Regions from separate parts of the Homo sapiens genome. Here regions 1, 2, 3, 4, 5 and 6 are each linked to region 7. The links are contacts of gene promoters, found by promoter capture Hi-C in blood cells and fetal thymus (Javierre and others, 2016). All regions are on one chromosome and are shown on one strand. Each heading gives the region's core, a stretch centred on a gene start or on the middle of the fragment in contact. The rest is flanking DNA. Distances are from core to core; before and after follow the strand shown.

Region 1 (2,716 bases), core at 163-2,662, 370 kb after region 7:
GTTTTGATTGAAGCAGTGTGAGGGCCACATGCAGTCATCTCTGCAATCTGTACTATATTGAAAGGACATTATTGTACAAAAAAAAATCTTACCAGCATAATTTCTGAAACAGAATTGTAAACACATGTGAAGAAGAGTTTTTTCTTACCTTGTCCTTGGCTATGGCTGGTGGCTGCTTTAAAACTTCTTTTACAGTCTGGATAACAGTTTCTGCTCTCATGACACTGATTGAACGAACCAATTCCACTAATAAAAGCTGTTCTTCACTGGCTGCAGGAATGACCTAGGTAATAAATCATTGTATGTATGTATGTATGTATATAAGTCTTTTAGGGGAAGTTACAGAAGAGAGTATTTTATGATCTCTTCTTTTTTTATATTTTTTAAATGGAGATGAGGTCTTGCTATTTTGCCCAGCCTGGTCTCAAACTCCTGTGCTCAAAATGATCCTCCTGCCTTAGCCCCCCAAAGTGCTAGGATTACAGGCATGAGCCACTGCACCCAGCCCTGGCCTCTATTTAATATAAAGACCTCTTCAAGTCCCTTGACTACTTTAGGCAAATTTTACTTATATATATATATATTATATATATATATATTATTATATATATATATTATATATATACTTTTAAATATATATATTATATATATAAAAGTAAAATTTGCATATATATATATATATACAATATATGTATATATTTTTTGAGATGGGGTCTTGCTCTGTCTCCAAGGCTGGAGTGCAGTGGCTCAATTACAGTTTACTGCAGCCTCAACCTCATAGGTTTAAGCGATCCTCTTGCTTCAGCCTCCTGAGTAGCTGAGACCACAGGCATGCCACTATGCCCAGATAATTTTTTAATTTTTTTGTGGAGACAGAGTCTCCCTATGTTGCCCAGGCTCAAAATTTATTTATTTTTCATCAATAAAGGTACATCACCTCAAAAAATAAAACAGAACAATAAGCTTTATAAGAAAAAATAGTATTGTCCTATATCCCTTCCCATGCCCCAAAGCAACCATGCTCAACTCTTTATGTTCTTTTCCATTACGTCTAAATAACATATACTACTATTTTTCCTATTTCCTGATTTTATTTTCAATTTTAGACATTATCTATTCATTACTTATTTTGGAAGACAAAGATGTAGCTCTCTTATACTTTTCTACCTATCCTCTCAACATTGTTATATCATATTTTTATTTAAATCCATATCCAATGTTCACATGATTATTTTTGGTTGCAATGTGCATTGTACTAGCATTGCATTTGTTTTATGGTACAACTTTTTGTTTTTCCTAGAGCTAATAAACTGCTTTGTTTGCTTCATTTTCTCTGTACCTATTAAAAATTCATCCCTACATACTTCAACTGTAAATCTCTAATTACATATTCAAATACTTCAGGTAATTAATTTGTATCTTTTCCTCCCTCTCTTCTCTTTTTTCCTTGAGACATTTCTGTTAGATGTCTTTTTATTCTACCCTGGGTTGATACTCTCTAGGTTTGCTACACAGTGTCATCTTGATATCTCTCCTGTTACCATTATCCCAGAGATTCCCCTTGCTTTCTCTTTTGTGTTGCAGCCCATTTCTTGGATCCCCTGTCTTCTTCATTCTTGGTTTATTCCTCCTCCGGTGGAGTTACATCTTCCAGTAGCCAAGAAAAAGTGAACTCATGGCAATTTTCCTTGTTGTTGTTGTTGTTGAGACATTGCATAGCTGAAAATGTTTGAGTGACAGTTTGGCTGGAGATAGAATTATGGGTTGAAACTAACTTCCCATCAAAATTCCCAGTGTTGCTGTTAACAAATCTCATCTTTATTCTTTGGAATGTGACCAGTATTCTTTCATTAGAAGCTTTTAGGATCTCTTCTTTATCTCCAGTGTTTTGAAATTACATGCTAATCTTTGTGCAGATCTCTTTTCACAGTGGTAGGCACAATCTGGAAACATATTTACTTCATTCCTGAGGACTTTTATTGTATTATTTCTTTGTATTTTTCTCCTCTTGTTTTTAAATTCTGCAGAAAGATACTGGGTCTCTAGTATCACTCCTCTAATATTCTTATCTCTTTTCTCGTATTTTCCGTATCTTTAAATTTGTATTCCATTTCTGATATTTATCCACTTTCTGTTCCAACCCTCCTAAAAATATTGCTTTGTTTCTGTTGCAGAATTTTTAATATCCATGAAAAATTTTAATTTTGGGAATGGTCTTTCCTATGATCTCCCTTTCTACTTCATGGTCTCACCCACTTAAGGACATTACTATTATTTACATTTTCTTCTGTTATCTGCACTGTTTGACTTTTTAAAATCTAGTTGTTTCAGTCTGTCTATCACATTAGAGACTTTATGTGACTGGTAATCCTTGGCTCTCTATTTCTATTTAAATATGAGGAATAATATAGCTAATATTTACACAGTGATTATTAAGTGCTAGGCATTGCTCTATGTGAATTACATATTATCAGCTGTAATATACCTGATAATTCTCCTGCCTCAGCCTCCTGAGTAGATAGGTCTACAGGCAAATGCCACCACACTTCACTATTTTTATTTTTTGTAGAGACAGGGTCTCATGAGGTCTTGAATTCTTGGCCTCAAGCAATCCTCCCGCCTTGGTCTCCCAAAGTGCTGGGATTATAGCTATGAGCCACTGTGCCTGGCTTCAACATGCCATGTTAAATCAAATGTTCTTTACTGCTTTTAAGTA
Region 2 (3,087 bases), core at 362-2,861, 430 kb after region 7:
ACAGACATAATGGTAAACCCTACTACACATCCTGGCTATATGGTATAACCTATTGCTCCTAGGCTGCAAACCTGTACAGCATGTTATATATTGAATACTGTAGGTAACTGTAACACAACAGTAAGTATTTGTGTACCTAAAAATAGAAAAGTACAGTAAAATACAGTATTAAAACCTTACGGGACCACTGTTACATAGGTGGGCCATCATTGAAATGTTATACAGCATATGACTATTTATATTTTCACTTTAGGTCTCAGAAAAGCTATACGAATAAAAACCTAAGACACAAGAGGTTTAAAAGCCCATAGATCTGCCAAGGTGACAGTGAAGCTGATTTAACTTTACGATTTCTTTTTTTACCAAGTAAATATACACAAAATTATATACGTTATTAAAAATTGTCTCTGAATGCTATAAAATCAGATTCTTTCTCATTTCAAATTCTGTGATTTCTGGTACACATAGCAATATGAAAATATTAATTTTAGAAAATACAAAACATAAGCACCATTTATAACTTGGAATGAGCCATTAGCAGGTAGGTGGGATTCTACTTTAAGCTTCAAATGGCAAACAGCCATAATAATAAACACTTAAGCACATACCCTTGAGTTACAAAGGATCATCCTGTCTCCAAAGCATAGTAGCCAAATAAACATTGTCCACGTATTACTCAAGATGATGATAATAATCACAGTTGATACTGACTTACAAATTACTCTGTGCCAGGCACTATACTAAGCCCTTTCATGTGAATTATCTCATGTATCTTCACAATACATCCATGAGGTAGATATACACATGAATCCATGTTCATATAAGGCAATTAGTGTTCAAGGTGCCACAGAGAATAAAAGGAAGAACCAGGAAGAACTCTGGCAGACTGACTCCTGGAATTGGCCCTTAATCAGTATCTTTCTGAACTTTTTTTTTTTTTTTTAAACCACAAGTCTTAATTCTCCTGCATGACATATTCTACCTCTCCTCTCTCATTAACTTTTTTCAAAAAACTTTTCCGGCTATATAGATTTCTTTCTTAGAAATTGTACTTAAAAAAAAACTATAATAATGTAAATACATATGTTATTCTTCCTAGACCTTGAATGAAGCACAGGGACCAAAGCTCAACTCAAAATACCCCAAGTGGTTCACCACTCAATACTGATAGTGTTTAAAATATAAGGCAAAAATGATCATGATTCTGATACAGAAGTTTTTATTTTTGGTTGTTATCTATAAAAGAGTGGGTTTTTGGCCAGGCATGGTGGCTCATGCCTGTAATCCCAGCACTTCAGGAGGCTGAGGCGGGTGGATCACCTGAGGTCAGGAGTTTGAGACCAGCCTGGCCAACATGGTGAAATCCCATCTCTAATAAAAATACAAAAATTAGCTGGGCGTGGTGGCAGGCACCTGTAATCCCAGCTACTTGGGAGGCTGAGGCAGAAGAATTGCTTGAACCCAGGAGGCAGAGGGTGCAGTGAGTGGAGACCGCACCACTGCACTCCAGCCTGGGTGACAGAGCAAAACTCGGTCTCAAAAAAAAAAAAAAAGTGGGTTTAAAAAAGAGACATGTAGCTTATTTCAAATTGACAGATAAAATTGTATTATGTACAATATAATGTTTTGAAGTATATACACACTGTGTAATGGTTAAATGTAGCTAATTAACAAATGCATTGCCTCAAATAGTTGTCATTTTTGTGGTAAGAACACTTACTACTCTTTGTATTTTTCAAGAACATATCATCATTAACCATAGCCACTATGCTGTACAACAGATTCCTTGAACTTACTCCTCCTAACTATATATCCTTTGACTAACATTCTTCCATCCTGTCATTTCCTCAAACCACCCCAGCCGCTGGTAAGCACCATTCTATTCTCTACTTCTATGGGATATACTTTTTAGGTTTTACATATTGGGTGAGATCATGCAGCATTTATCTTTCTGTGCTTTGCTTATTTCACTTAACACAGTGTCCTCTAGGTTCATCCATGTTATTGCAAAGAACAGAATTTTGCTTTTTGATAGGTGAATAGCATTCCATCATGTATATAAACCATATTTTCTTTGCCCCTTCATCTGCTGATAGACCCCTAGGCTGATTCCATATCTTGGCTATGTGAATACTGCTGTTTATGTGCACTTCTCTCTTTGACATACTGATTTCATTTTCTTTGGATATATACTCAGTAGTGGGATTACAGAATCATATGGTAGTTCTATTTTTTTCATTTTTTGAGGCCCCTCCTTACTGTTTTCCATAATGGCTATACTAATTTACATTCCCACCAACAGTGTGTTCCCTTTTCTCCACATCCTCTCTAACACTTACCTTTTGTCTTTTTGATAACAGCAATTCTAACAGGAGTGAGATGATATCTCATTTTAGTTTTGATTTGCAGTTACCTGATGATTAGTGACGTTGAGCCTTTTTTCATATACCTGTTGGCCATTTATGTCTTCCTTTAGGAAATGTCTACTCAGGTCTTTTGCATATTTTAAAATCAAGTTGTTTACTTGCTATTGAGTTCCTTATATATTTTAGATATTAACCCCTTATCAGATGTATGGTGTGCAGATATTTTCTCCCATCCTGTAAGTAGGTTGTCTCTTTACTCTGCTAATTGTTTCCTTTGCTGTGCAGAAGCTTTTTAATTTCATATAACCCCATTTGTCTATTTTTGCTTTTGTTGCCTGTGCTTTTAAGATCATAGATACAAAATCATGGTGCAGATCAATGTCACATAGCTTTTCTTGTTTCTCCTAGTAGTTTCATAGTTTCAGGTCCTATTTTTTTTTATAACCCAAGATGATTTTTGTATATGGTGAGAGATAAGGGTCTAATTTTGTTCTGCAGTTTATCCAGTTTTCCCAACACGATTTACTGAAGAGAATGTCCTTGCCCCACTGTGTATTACTGTTGCCTTTGTCAAAAACCAGTTGGTTGTAGGGCTGGGCATGGTGGCTCACACCTGTAAACCCAGCACTTTGGGAGGTTGAGGTGGGTGGATCACTTGAGCCAGAAGTTGGAGACCAGCCTGGCCAACATGGTGAAACCTTGTCTCTATTAAAAATACAAA
Region 3 (2,782 bases), core at 252-2,751, 410 kb after region 7:
AATTTTTAGTTTTTAGTGCAGAAAGTATAAAATAGTTTAGCAATACATTTTCTTTATATTATTTGTATATATATAGTAAAATTATTCTTACCTATATAAAAAAAGATCTTTGGCAAGTCGCTTAGGTCCAATTATTTTGAAGATAATTTCATATGTTTCAAGCGCCTTCCGATGAACTCCACCTGGTAATGCTGGATGTAGACATTGAGCTAGGCGTTTGCCTATGGTCAGCTTTTTGGGTACTACTTGGTACTTTGCATTATTTTGTAAAACCTTGAAGAAAGCATTTTAATGTAGTTGAGAAAAACAAAATATTGCATTCATTTTACTTCCATTTTCTAGCATAGTATTATAAAAAATGATCATTGTAGGTCTTTGTGTTTTGTTAGCTACATTTGCCTATATATACCATATTTAAAATTAAAACTGAGGAAATGTTACAAACTTTATTAATTTGTTTAAAAAATAAACTCGTTACCTGTTAACAGAATAACATTTTTAATGAAAAATGATATTTTCCAAAACAAATTTATGGAGAAGAGAGGTATTTTAGATTTTTTTTGGTAAATTTTTAATATTTGATGTGAGAAGACAGCTGGAATGTTACATGAACATGTAACATGGAAAGTTACAGCCTTCAATCCATTTTTGCTACTTTGAAATAAAGTCTGGCCTCAAAGTAGATATTTACAGTACTTGGAAGAGGTACAACCATTGTCCTAGTATATCAAATTACAGCAAGTAATTCTAATGCTTATAAGAAAATCTACATGAGATTATCATTGCCCATTTGTTTTTATAAACTGATTTTTCTAACTGGACAAAACAACTTTTTGTTTTATTTATTCAACCATAACATTTCCTTAGAAATAATGGTCAGGGCAGAATTTCTGTACAGAGACCCTATCTTACCAACCACTCAAAGGAGATTAGTTAAGTAAAGAAGATCTTATAATAAATGTAATCCTTTAGTTTGAACCTAGAAGTCAGTATTATAATCAAGTATTGATAGAATGTCACAAAGTGAAGACTCAGAATGAATACAGACTATGTTAGAACTGGAATTTAGAAGAAATATGCAAAGTCTTATTTTACAGAATAAACTGAGGTTGAAATAATAGGTTAGTGCAAAAGTAATTGTGTTTTTTTGCCATAATATATGAAATGACCATCAAAGGCGGTATGAGTATATATATGTAATAGAGCATATATATATGTGTATGTGTATATATATGTATACGTGTGTATATATATATATATATGTATATACACACACACACACACACACACACACACATATGCAATCCTTGCCTTGTTCTATCACAATTTTGGCTAAGCTTCATAAACAACTTGGGTATTCTTCTTTGAGTTATCTAGATACCATGAAATCTACTTTTGTGAATATTGGTTAATCTAAAAAACTAATTATGTACCTAATTAGGCAAATTAATTTCCATCATTTAATGACTTGCCTTTAAAAAGAGTTCCCAGTATATCTTCAGAAACAGACTCTTCAAAACTCTTTAGGAAAAAAAAGAACCTAACTACCTTTAAGCAAACTTGTACTTTTAGATGGAATTTCTTGTGGATGTTGTAAAGGAATAAAGAATTATTCAAACTTCAAAAGATAAATGTTAGAAGTTCTAACATCAAAGAGAAGCTTCTGAATCAAATTTTAAGACAAATCCTTGACATACTGAAAATGGTAACTTTTCTTTTTATGGTATCAAAGTGATTATCTGTCGTATCAGGTTGAAAACTAGTGTCCTGGTGTGGTATTGTGAGTGAGAGTGTGTCTGTAGGTTTTCATCCATGGTTCCTGGCTCATAACTCCCACAGCCCTTATTATAATATGGGGAACTTTGGGCCTCAGAAGCAGGCCTCAGAAAACAATTTCTCTCTGACTTTTCCTGCCCTCTTCTCATCTCCTTTTTCTCCCTAAGGCAGGAATCTTCCCCTGTCTCGGAGCTGGCCGTAACAAAATTCTCTGGACTACTTGGTCTCATTGTAGGTCAAAGACCCCTATTTCAGAAGGGGTCCTGCCCCATACCCAGAAGGAAGGAATGCTGTAGAGAGGCCAAGAAAAATCTGACAGACGGGCCTTGCTGGGTTCCCCCACTTAGTCTGTTAGTATTACATCATATCTTTTCTTTCCTATCACATTTCTACACAGCTGTCCATGCTTCAATCATGCCTATCCAATGAAGTCTCAAAAGGCCCAAAAGGATGATTAGAGAGTGTCCAGGCCAGCTGAACACATGCGGAGGTTCCTGGAGGGTGGCACTCCTGAGGAGGGCATGAAAGTTCTACGTCCCTTCACCCATACCTCACACTATGCATCTCTTCACTTGTATCCTTTGTAATGTCCTTTATAATGAACCAGTACCCTAAGCTCTGTGAGCCGCTCTAGCAAATTAAAGCTAAAGAAAGGATTGTGGAACTTTATAGCCAGTTGATCAGAAGCACAGGTAAAACAAACTAGGGCTTGTGATTGGCATCAAAACAGGAGGACAGTCTTATGAGGCTCAGCCCTCAACCTGTGGGATCTGATACTATCTCCAGGTAGATAGTGTCCAAATTGAACTGCAGCACATCCAGCTGGTATCTACTGTAGAACTGCTTGCTTGCTGGTAAGGGAGAAATAACCACTTGTTTTAGGGTTATAGAAATCTTCTGCATTGATTGTCGTGGTGAGAGCAGAGGAAAAACTATCTGTGTTTTCTTCCCCCACACATCTTAGTATGTATTTTAAGACAAACTTCTTTCCTAATTTGTATGTTAA
Region 4 (2,929 bases), core at 28-2,527, 330 kb after region 7:
TGCATATGATAGAAATTTGCATTTCTATCAAGTTTGCAGGCTTTGTTCCCAGTGCTTGTCTGGGGATCCCTTTTTGAGAATCACAGATCTACAGGGGAGCATAGTAAGTATTATTAGATACCTTATCTGAATTAAATACACTATGGAAAGCAAATGTAACTCTGCTTATACAGTTGTTAGCAATCAGTGTTTTCCACTCAGTGCAGAATAGGAGGAAGACTTTTCTTCAGATTTTAGTTGTAGTAAGAGGTGTTCTGGATTTATCTGCATTATAGACCCTAAATTATTTGCTTAGGCCAAACCTGACTTGCAGATATGTTTTGTTTGGCTGGCTGCATTTGTGTGTTTGTCTGTGTGCCACTGTTTAAAAATTCCGTGACTTCTCTTATATATTGGAATCTCTAGCATCTCTTTACCAAAATCAGAAAATGTTCACACATGGCATTAGTCCACTACAGTCAGATAGATGCTGCTCCCCTAAAATAGGACATGCATTCTGGAACTCTACAGACTTCATCCAGTTGCCTCATTCATTCATGTTATTATGCTTTACTTAGTAAGCATTTAAAATGTCAGTGTAGTCAACCAATTTGAGCTCCTTTTCATTGAATTGCTTGTTTTGACATTTACTTGACAGTTCAGTTCTGCCACTTATTTATCCATTTCTTAAATACTGAGCTCTTACTCTCTATGCTCTAGGCTTTGGGACTACAGTATGAACAAAACCATAGTCCTTGCTTTCCTGAAGCTTGCATCATGTCCTTTCATCAATCTTATGATCCCATTCCTGACAAAAGCCTTTTACTTCTTAGTTGTCTCATGTTGAATTTGTCACTCTGCTGCTGTCATGGCTAAGGAATAGCCAAATTTTCTAATAAATTTGATGTGACAATTGCTGAGATTTCAGCAACTTTATGTAAATTTCACAGGCCAGTTATCTCTCAAAGTTATAATTCTTTGCTCTTAATTATCAGTGTTTCTTTTTATTGGTGGTATGAACAAATAAAAATCATTTCTGTTAGAATTAAAGCACATACATCATCTAGTGCTGATTATTTTTTCTATGTAAAGGAGATCACGGTCCTAGGTAAATTACATTCAGAAATACATGTAGCTTTCAAAAAACCTTTATGGGACACCTGTCTAGCCAAACCAACCTGCTTATAAAGTGGAATTTTATGGTAGTATTATAGCAAATATCAGCATAGATTTTGAATGCTCCTTTTTTCACTTTGCAGTGAAAGAATTTGACCTGTAAAAACCACTAATAAACTATGTACTATTTAAAGATTATACACTATTTAAGATTAAGACATTGATTTTTAGGTGGATAATTTTAAGAGAAAATTCTAAAACTCTTTATAATAAATTCTTAGACTGAAATGCATGTTAAATTATCCTGTGTGCTAGGAATGGAAATTAAGTCCAATGAAAGATGCTGTTCTTTTGATGGAGATGCAGACAGAATTGTTTATTACTACCATGATGCAGATGGCCACTTTCATCTCATAGATGGAGACAAGATAGCAACGTTAATTAGCAGTTTCCTTAAAGAGCTCCTGGTGGAGGTATGGTGGGGGGATTGGCTACCCTCTAAAACAAGACTTAGTAGTGAAATAGTTCCATATTTTACAATCATTTGTCAGAAGGGCACAATTTATGACAAATTCTTTACATTAGTGGGCAGAAAATTAAAAAAAGAGCAGTGGTAATACCCAGTCATTTGAACATTTGAGGCATTGGCTTTGGAACCTGAAGGTACTCTTTTCCTCCTTATACTGGCTGAGTTTTGTGATTTGAAGCTTTAGGAAGTTTTGCTTCCATCATAATTGAAACTTTGATGACAGTTCTGTGGTCACTCCATAAAAGCCCTAAATTCTAATAGGAAATCTCATCATCTGATATATTAACTGATTATGATAAGCTTAGTAATGTGAGATTTGTTTCATTTTGCTATTTTAGAAATAAATCTCAGGCTAGCTTTAAGTACACAATGTAATTGGAAATTATTATAATCTGGAAACAGCATACTTTAAGAATTTAATAGATTTTTTTTTTTTTTTTTTTTGAGACAGTGTTGCTCTGTTGCCCAGGCTGGAGTGCAGGGGCGTGATCTCGGCTCATTGCAACCTCTGCCTCCCTGGGCTCAAGCAATTCTTCTGCCTCAGCCTCCCAAGTAGCTGGGATTACAGATGCATGCCACCACACCTGGCTAATTTTTGTACTTTTAGTAGAGATGGGGTTTCACCATGTTGGCCAGGCTGGTCTCGAACTTTTGACCTCAGGTGATCCACCCACCTTGGCCTCCCAGAGTGCTGGGATTACAGGCGTGAGCCACCGTGCCTGGCCAGATACTTTTATTTAAAAAATTAAAGAGGTGAAGATCAGGAGATACAGGCTTCTTAAAAGAGGAATTCTCATAGAATTGTTTTAAATAGTGTTCAAATGTATTTTAGGCTTTTTTCCTGGCATACATGTAAATTTTCAGTCAGACATTTTTGGCATAAACTAAGGCACAACTGAACTGGCTGATAATTTTGGTAGCCTTTAGAACTCTCATTATATTTGTTTTTGTAGACCATACTTTTGATGGCAAGTTAAGTATCATTGTTTTTGTCTAGATTGGAGAAAGTTTGAATATTGGTGTTGTACAAACTGCATATGCAAATGGAAGTTCAACACGGTATCTTGAAGAAGTTATGAAGGTATTGAACCATTTTTGTTTTCTGGTAGTTTCTTAATTAAGATCATGTTTCTGTGAGAAAGATACTGCCCTCATAAAAGTGATTATGTTGTAGTGCATGAAGCTGAGCTGCTGTTCATGTAAAGGTAAAGAGAAATAAATAAGAAAAAATTTAGTTGTCCTTGATGAATAAAGGAAAACTTCTTTCCTTCCTTTTCTTGGAGTTTTCCTTTAGAAAACTTGGAA
Region 5 (2,731 bases), core at 47-2,546, 310 kb after region 7:
GGAGGCTGAGGCATGAGAATCACTTGAATCCGGGAGGCAGAGTTTGCTTTGAGCTGAAATTGGGCCACTGCACTCCACCCTGAGTGACAGAGCGAGAGAGCAAGACTCCGTCTCAAAAAAATAGAATGGCTGCACATATTCCGAAACTTAAGCAGATGGTGATTCCAACTGCAGCTGCTGTCATATAAGTTCTTTTTTCTTGGAGCAAATCAGAAAGTAGCTGGCTACTGATTTGGTCAATGCTTTTTTGTTTTTCCTTTATTCCAGTAAGTAAAGACCACTTGAAGCATTTTCTTTATCTCAGTAAGCAGCAATGTAGATTGTCTTTTTCCAACATTACATTAACTTTCTATGTCAGAATATCAGTCTCGATATCAGACCTTTGATCAGCTTACCACTATACAGGGCAGCATGCTGTATGCCTCCAGGTGATATTCTGATTGGACTTGGAGAATGGAGTCATGTTTCCTGGATGCCTAGTAAGATGTGTCATCCCAGAGGGTGAACGATAAATCCCATGAAAGCACAGAGCCTGCAGCCAAGTTTTGTAGAAGTCCAGTGTCTGGTACATGCTGGGATTTCCCCTTCATTGTGAGGAACAAATTGTGTACTTTGTTCCTTCTATAACTAAGGAGAACTCCCAGGGTTTGGTGGGTGATATGGTTTGGCTGTGCCCCTATCCAGATCTCACCTTGAATAGTAATAATCCCCATGTGTCAAGGACAGGACCAGGTGGAGATAATTGAATCATGGGGGTGGTTTACCCCATACTTCTCGTGGTAGTGAATAAGTGTCACGAGATCTGGTGGCTTCATAAAGGGGAGTTCCCCTACACAAGATCTCTTGCCTGCCCCTATGTAACATATCCCTATGCTCTTCCTTCGTCTTCTGCTGTGATTGTGAGGCCTCCCTAGCCATGTGGAACTGTGAGTCCATTAAACCTCTTTCCTTTATAAACTACCCAGTCTCGGGTATGTCTTTATTAGCAGCATAAGAATGAGCTAATACAGTGGGCTTACTTAAATTCTGTGTACCCTGCTCAAATTCATTCGGGGGTTGACCCAAATGCATCTAGTTTTGACTGGGATCAGAAAGAGAGGTCTCTCTAGCTGGTCCAGGCTATGGTGAAATTAGTTCCACCATGTGGACCTTATGAGGGAAAGCCAATGGGCTCAGAGTTTCTGTGGCAAATCAGGATTATGTATAAAACCAGGAAGTGTGAGCAACACTGTGCCCTCTTCAGACAATAACTATTCTTTTGACTTACTACTGGGCTACTTGAGATAAAAGCAAGTGAAAAAAACCTGTTCAAAAGGGTTCCATGAAGGCTGCAGACAGACACCATCAGAACCTTCTCAGGTTCTGAGAGGGGATGGATGGCATGTAAGGAGTTATATGTGAACGCTCAAGTTCACAGGCAATGTATGTTTGATTTAATAAGGAATGTTTTAGAGGTCCCTGTGTTGTGGTCTGCCAACTCATCTGGCCTACTCAATTCACTATGCAGGTGTCCTCAGCTCTTAGCCTAACACATAATAGACCAGTAAGGAATGAAAAGCAAAGAACATACTTGACGATATGCTTCATTTACTTCAGCAAACTTTAAAAAGACACTGTAACTTTTATAAATGAGCACATTTTCCAAATAACCATTTAAGAATATAATAAACAGAATATCCAGATTCTTAAGTTACAAGCAATAGAGACTGATTCTGATTTCCGACAACAAAAGGGAAGATGCTGGGTCATTCAAAGGAAATGCCAAACAGCTGAGCATTCAGTAGGTCAGAAATGAGGGTGGCACTAGAGGTTTAAGCAGCAAGAGCTCACAGCCATCTCTCCAGGAGGCTGCCAGAGGACAACTTGATTCCTATCACTTTCTCTTCCCAAATCACACAGGGAAGGGGCAGTTTCCCAAAATAAGCTGTGTGTGTAGGGGGAGGGGGTTGGGGAATGACGGACTTTTATTATGTGCTCATATCAGGCTGTGCAAACAACCAGCAGACTCCTATACATACAAAGTTGAGTTTTGAATTATACATGTACTTTTTTTTTCTATAAAACCTACACGTCCCCATAATACTATCTGCATTAGTTTTCCTGATAGGAAAAAAAGTATTGCAGAATGCTCAAATTAGACTTATTTATAAAAAAGTAGGTTCTGAAAAATCTCAGAAATAGCTCCAGAAGCAGTAGAGTTCATAACCTAGAATTTATTGCCTTTTCTTTACACCCATCTTTCTGTAGCTACTTTTGCTCATGTAATCAGGAAAAACACCTCTATAAGGTAGGTTGATGGCACATATTGATTCATTTGGATGGAGTTACATCTGTTGAAGGCCTAAAACTTGTAAATGCGAATTATACTTATTGATAGCTTTGTGGAGACTGTGGGGGAAAAAGATTCCTATACTTTGTTGTTTTTAGTGCTGGCAAACATTAAGAAGTGATTCCTTGGCAATGTAAGTCCTATTTCTTCCCTTTGCATATAGGCAAAGTGTCAGGCTCCAGCCTGAGTTCCAGCACAACCAAGGCTAGGATGGAAACATGAATGGCAAGCTGGAGGACCTGGCGGGGCAGGCCTACAGCGAGCCATGGGTTGAAGATCTGAGTTGTGCCCTGAGAGGACACTCATTGTGACCTAAGAAGAAAGAGGCAGTACAAAGTGGACCCAGTTCTAACACCTCCTTGGGATAGGGCCTCCTGCTCCATCATGTCCTCTCTGTAGCCC
Region 6 (2,756 bases), core at 60-2,559, 270 kb after region 7:
CTGTCTCTACTAAAAATACAAAAATTAGCCAGGCATGGTGGTGGGTGCCTGTAATCCTAGTTACTTGGGAGGTTGAGGCAGAAGAATCGCTTGAACCTGGGAGATGGACGCTGCAGTGAGCCAGGATCGCGCCACTGCACTCCAGCATGGGTGACAGAGTAAGACGCTGACTCAAAATAAAAAAATAAAAATAAATACAAAAACTGATAGTATGAAGATAAACCTAAGCACGAATTCTGTCTGACTTATAAAAAGCTTAGTTTTAAATCTTAAAGTAAAACTTATTATGGAATAATTTATTGTAAAAATTTACAGTTTTATGAAATTTCAATTTTCTACATGTATTCCCTTCTCTGCAATGAAATTTAAATCAAGGTAGTACCAGGCCATGTACAAGAATCATGTTCAAGTTAAATTTTTGATAGTGCTAAAAATATCTTTCTGATTTTATTAATTAATTCTATAAATGGAAGATTAGTGTTTTCATTGTGTTCTCAGGAAATATTATGAAATATATCTTTAAATATAATGTATGAACTTAACACATTTTGAGTTTTAAGTGATCTAGCATAACCATATGAAATTAAGGTACCAAATAGGATATTTTAGAATATTTTCTGTCTATCTGACCGTAAGTGTCCAATTCGATGTAAATAAAAATAATAATACAAATACAGTGATTGCTGATGATACTTCAACTTTGATGCTTCAATTGGTTAAATCTTATAGAAACCCTTAAAATCATAGAATCTCAGAGTTGGAAGGGAGCTTAGAGTTCCCCAGATCCAAACTTCTGGGCAGTTTACTTCAAAAGAACCCAAGAGAGAGATAGCTTGAGCTACTATTTCTGAATAACTTCTTATTTAGTAAGTGGATATCTATACCTCTCTTTCTAGTTTAAATTCTCTTTCATCTGTTTAATGACTCTAGTGAATATATCTTGCATGGGGAAAATATCATTCTAATCATGTCATGATATATTCTCTACATACACTAGCCATATTTTTTGCATAGATTTTCACCTTAAGTAATGTATAGAAGAGTGGCTTTTTCATAATATATGACTTAGCACAGTTCATAATTATTGCAATAGTGACTCTAAATTGCATGCATTTTATTTTTGTAGTACACATTGTGATCCTAAAGAAAAGGCACATATGGGACTAACAGGCCTTCAACAATTATTGTTTATTGTGTTCTTATTTGCGGCTACCTAATTATACAAGAAAGAAACTAAAAGATTGAATAGAACAAATTTACTGATTGTGAAATGTTGATTACCTTTGATACTTGACATACATAACGCTTCATCGTTGTGTCATTCATCAAACCTAGTCTAATCTTTGTTTTAACCATAATGTTAAATAAGGGTATTTAACGTTTAGCTAGGCTTTACTACCCAGCTGAGTGATGTAGGAAACATTATAGGTAGAATGTTACCTTGGAGGAGTAAAGTATAGATACAGCTGGAAAGTGTTGCAAGAAGCTGCTGCTTTATTAGCCATAAAGAAGTTGAGCTGTGTAATTACACTTAAAGCAAGAGAACTGCTTTGTGATCTGTGAATGCTTATATGGTAAAGTAATATAATTGGAACTGGTGAAGTTTTTATGCCTATGAGACATGATGAGGAAAATATAATTTTTATCTTAAGAAATTTTGCATTAGTTTTGTCTAGTACCTTTGGGATCCACCAGTGATTTTCATAGGTAAAAAGTCTATTAAATGATACAATATAATTAGATTTTACTTGCCATTAACATTAAATTCCAAATGTATCAAAAATATTATGAGCACCAATACCATCATCAGCAAGAATTTACTATTTGTGTCCTCCTATCTCAGGTTCTGAAACTCTTACATTAAGAGTTTCTTTGTGTGAAGAAGAGTTTCTTTGTGTGAAGCCTACTTTGTGTGAAGAAGAGTTTCTTTGTGTGAAGCCTTCTTTGTGTGAAGGGGATCATTAATAGATTTCAAAACCCCAAGAGTAATTAGACGGAAGAATCTAATAGCACTTATTACTCTTTTATATCATAAAGTAAAACTACTTTACAGATGAGGAAACTATCTATTTGATGTACACAATAATTTCTCTAAATTCTTTCAGCTAGTCAGTGGGTTGTTGAGCTAGAATCTGAGGAATCCAGATCCCATCCTTTCATTGATTATGTCACTAAGATAAGTCACAGAATCTTCTTTTAGGGAAGTTTTCAAGAATAGTAGTAAGCTGCTATCTTAAAATATTGATGTCAGTAGCCTGGGAATTTTACCACGTATGCAAGCATGGGATAAGACAACCACAGGTTTCTCTTCTGTACCAGTTAACCTGTTTTATGATTATTTCAAGTTGTGAATAAAAGCTTGAAAATTGGCAGGATCTGTTTGAGGATTACTCAAGGATATTTATTACTTGTTTCAGGAACAGCATCTGTTGCAGTTGCAGGTCTCCTTGCAGCTCTTCGAATAACCAAGAACAAACTGTCTGATCAAACAATACTATTCCAAGGAGCTGGAGAGGTATTTGCCTTGTGTAATACTTATGTTCTCCTAAACTAACATATAATTAGTGTTAATTGCTCATTAACTCAAGATTTGACGTATTCTTTCAAATTTTTAGTATATTATGACTGTAGGCTTTATGGAAGATTCCCAAATTAAGTACTGAGACATATTAATTATTCATAGGATAATTTAGTACAGAAGTAATGAGATATTTTTCACAGTTTTAAATTTGTGGTATTATCAAATGTTGCCGTAG
Region 7 (2,852 bases), core at 104-2,603:
ATCATTTACCCAATGGAGAAAATTAACTCACACTAGCAATTGCTTATTTTAACATCTAATGAACACATACTGTATGCCAAGTATATGCTAAACAGTCTCACATTTTAAAACGTGAAAAAGCTTCTTAAAAGCATGCAGTTTTCCCAGCTATCTGGAAGAAAAATGGGGTACAGTATCCACATCTACCACTTCCCTCACTAAAGGAACTCCTCTAATATTTCCTAATAAAAATAAAATTCCATATGATACTTGGCCTCTACCTTCAAGCCTACATGTCTTATTTGGCAGGGATTTTAACATTCTCTCTTCTAAATTATAAACCAGATTCTAAGTATAATTCTCCAGCCAGCAAAATATGACTTTTATAATCCTCTGTGGAGACAAATGTACTTCGGATAAAATAAGAATGAATTTCAGAAGTCAGAAGGGTTAATAAGGGGTGAAAGCCCCCTAGACACAGCAAGCAGCTTCTTTTCAAATCAAGGACAGTGTAAAAATGTCAGAGCAATCAAGCGGGAGTGTTTCTACAACTTTTTAAAAAACCTTTTATTATAGAAAATTTCAAGACTACACAAAAGCACAGAGAAAAGTATTAAGTTGAGAGAAAAGTACAACCCCCATGTGCACATCACCAGCTTCAACTATTGTCAATATTTTGCCAATGTTTCATCCACCATCACCACCCCACACACTTTTTTTTTTCAGCTAGAGTATTTCAAAGCAAGTCAAAAGCTTTTCTACTTCATTTCGCCGCCTCATTTTCTAAACGTTTTCCTATGCTCCTTTTGCTGACCTCCGCAGCCAAGTTGATAAAAGGGTAGAGGGGAGAGGCTAGCTTTCATAGTAACCCCGCCAAAGAGACTTTTCAGGAATGCGTTTCATACCTTTCTCAATGGCATCTGTTAACAATCATAAAAATAAAGAGGGTCCCCTCTGGTACTGCTTAAGCAGAAAGAATTCCATTTATATTCCAATGCAAACATTGTTGTCGTTAATATTAAACTGTGCAGAGGCCGGCACACAGAATTGCCTATGGGAAGGGTGGTTAGTTTCTTTGAGGACTGAAAGAAAGTGTCAAGTTTGATCCCTTTCTTCAAAGTCCTTCAAAGAAGCTCTCCTCGGGTAGGTCCTGCCTTTCTCAGGGAAATTTCTAAGTTCTAAGGTTGTTGGGTTTGGGGAGCTTCATCTTTACCTGCCAGGCTTGTTTGGTCCCCGAGGGCACTGTCAGCTGAGATCAGAGCTCCCGAGGAGGCGGGCGGGGACGCTGCAGCTGGGAGCCTCTCAGCCAGCCTGAGCCGGAGGCCGCCCCGCCAAGGCCGGGCCACAGCACCCAGAGCTCGCCACTGAGACTGCGGAGGGGGAGAGAGCTGCGCCGCACCACGGCCGGGAGATGGGAGGGGAAAGGGGGCGATGACGAGGGGCGGGCGCGGTGGGATGGAGTGGGGGGAGGGGAGGAGGAGGAGGTGGGCAAGAGGAGACGGAGAGGGAGGGCGGAGAGGGGAGTTCCCTGGAGGAACGGGGCGGACCTGGCCGTGTCTCACCCCAGCATTTCTGCCCCCAAGCTGAATTAAGCATTAGGAAAAATTCATGAGTAGGTTCACAGGGGATGCCTGTCCCTGTAATAGTATGCACTCCTTTAACAGTCTCAGGAGTTGTTCAGTTAAGAGTCTCATTCCTCACTGCTTGCTGTTGAGACCCCAGGCATCTAGAAGAACGGAGGGCGTCTCCCCAACCTTATCCCAAGCTAGTCTCCACCGGGGACCTAGCTTCTCTGGATGCACAAGCCTCAGGGTTACCCCGACTTGTACCAGGCGCCCAGGCTGCACACGAGGATGGGGACCTCAGGCTGGGACGCCTGGACCCCCGGGAGCATCCTGCGCTGCCTCCAGGGGGAGCGCGTCAGTTTCCGTCTGCAGGGAAAAGGCTGGTTTTCCTCTTTGGGCGAGTAACCTTTAAGGTCCTTTCCCATCTCAGTCCCACCAGCATTCTAACCTCATCCGTTCTCTCGACCTTTTATTCTCCTTTAGGAGAGGGGTGGGGGCCACATGAGAAAGGAAGCTTCATTTGTTTAACAACAAATTCTAGTGGGTGACAGGTCTGGGGCAAGATGAACTGATACAACGAGAGAATACATAAACAAAAACAAAAACAAAAACAAAAAAACTCGGTCCTGGCCCTAAAGCAGGGAGATCGAGTAAGTGCACAAGTACTTACAACACAAGGTCTTAGCATGTCTTGTAACACTTGGTTCGTTAGTAGGTTATTGCGTATCTCAAGTTCTGTGTACTTTTAATGAGATTATAACATACTTAGCATTGTCCCTCGTTATACTCAACGGACTAGTTCCAGGCCCTCTTCCCCTCCGCCCCCCCATACTAAAATCATCCCATATTCAAGTCCAAGTCCAGCTGTGGGCCCTGGGGAACCCGCGTATAGGAAAAGTCTGCCCTCTGTTTAAGCATTTCTGCCTGAAAATACTGTTTTCTATCCGCTTTTGGGTGAAAAAAAAAATCTGTGTATAAGTGGACCTGTGCAGTTCAAATATGTGTCCAAGGGCCAACTATATATACAATTTCATTGCTGTTTTCTCATTTAGCATTGTTAACATAAGCATTTACCCATATATTAAAATCTATTGGTAATTTTTACCAGTTAGAATTAGTTCTGAAGCTCTCTGTCACCAATTAGATCATAATAGTCATATGCATCTTTGAATCACCACCATCTACCACAGGGCCTGGCATATAGTAGCTGCTGCATTAGACGTGGAACTAAAAAGTTTGCTAGTCAGATGGAGTGTGGAGAAGTCACAGAGAAAGTCCAGAACTCAGAATGGGAATTCCGCCTGACAC

The links. The method cuts DNA at HindIII sites, captures the fragments that hold promoters and counts their contacts. A CHiCAGO score of 5 or more calls a contact.
Region 1: a contact is called between a fragment that was not itself captured here and the fragment with the promoter of PRSS35 in region 7, in 2 of 17 cell types (M0 macrophages and monocytes). The highest score is 6.7, in M0 macrophages.
Region 2: a contact is called between a fragment that was not itself captured here and the fragment with the promoter of PRSS35 in region 7, in 3 of 17 cell types (megakaryocytes, M0 macrophages and endothelial precursors). The highest score is 7.9, in megakaryocytes.
Region 3: a fragment that was not itself captured here is called in contact with the fragment with the promoter of PRSS35 in region 7 in 3 of 17 cell types (megakaryocytes, M1 macrophages and M0 macrophages); the score reaches 7.1 in megakaryocytes.
Region 4: a fragment that was not itself captured here is called in contact with the fragment with the promoter of PRSS35 in region 7 in 6 of 17 cell types (M1 macrophages, M0 macrophages, megakaryocytes and 3 more); the score reaches 8.9 in M1 macrophages.
Region 5: a fragment that was not itself captured here is called in contact with the fragment with the promoter of PRSS35 in region 7 in 5 of 17 cell types (M1 macrophages, M2 macrophages, M0 macrophages and 2 more); the score reaches 10.7 in M1 macrophages.
Region 6: a contact is called between a fragment that was not itself captured here and the fragment with the promoter of PRSS35 in region 7, in 7 of 17 cell types (megakaryocytes, M2 macrophages, M1 macrophages and 4 more). The highest score is 21.3, in megakaryocytes.

What each region holds. Positions count from the first base shown.
Region 1 is chr6:83,143,091-83,145,806 of GRCh38, reverse strand. DOP1A (DOP1 leucine zipper like protein A) reads right to left here. Exons shown (of 39, transcript NM_015018.4): 25 at 149-283. Among named protein-coding and RNA genes, the nearest start is that of PGM3, 49 kb to the left of the region's middle. The HindIII fragment of the contact is 894 bases long and covers 966-1,859 here.
Region 2 is chr6:83,081,277-83,084,363 of GRCh38, reverse strand. The region is part of intron 1 of DOP1A (DOP1 leucine zipper like protein A); the gene reads right to left. Among named protein-coding and RNA genes, the nearest start is that of DOP1A, 15 kb to the right of the region's middle. The HindIII fragment of the contact is 2,091 bases long and covers 566-2,656 here.
Region 3 is chr6:83,098,196-83,100,977 of GRCh38, reverse strand. DOP1A (DOP1 leucine zipper like protein A) reads right to left here. Exons shown (of 39, transcript NM_015018.4): 4 at 92-273. Among named protein-coding and RNA genes, the nearest start is that of DOP1A, 32 kb to the right of the region's middle. The HindIII fragment of the contact is 323 bases long and covers 1,340-1,662 here.
Region 4 is chr6:83,178,449-83,181,377 of GRCh38, reverse strand. It overlaps PGM3 (phosphoglucomutase 3), which reads left to right. Exons shown (of 13, transcript NM_015599.3): 7 at 1,411-1,568; 8 at 2,622-2,705. Among named protein-coding and RNA genes, the nearest start is that of PGM3, 13 kb to the left of the region's middle. The HindIII fragment of the contact is 1,054 bases long and covers 751-1,804 here.
Region 5 is chr6:83,197,772-83,200,502 of GRCh38, reverse strand. It overlaps RWDD2A (RWD domain containing 2A), which reads right to left. Exons shown (of 3, transcript NM_033411.5): 3 at 1,568-2,731. Among named protein-coding and RNA genes, the nearest start is that of RWDD2A, 5.8 kb to the right of the region's middle. The HindIII fragment of the contact is 3,139 bases long and covers 1-2,731 here.
Region 6 is chr6:83,239,298-83,242,053 of GRCh38, reverse strand. ME1 (malic enzyme 1) reads left to right here. Exons shown (of 14, transcript NM_002395.6): 8 at 2,418-2,515. Among named protein-coding and RNA genes, the nearest start is that of RWDD2A, 47 kb to the right of the region's middle. The HindIII fragment of the contact is 2,103 bases long and covers 258-2,360 here.
Region 7 is chr6:83,511,035-83,513,886 of GRCh38, reverse strand. PRSS35 (serine protease 35) reads right to left here and starts at 1,353. Exons shown (of 2, transcript NM_153362.3): 1 at 1,193-1,353. The HindIII fragment of the contact is 1,326 bases long and covers 735-2,060 here.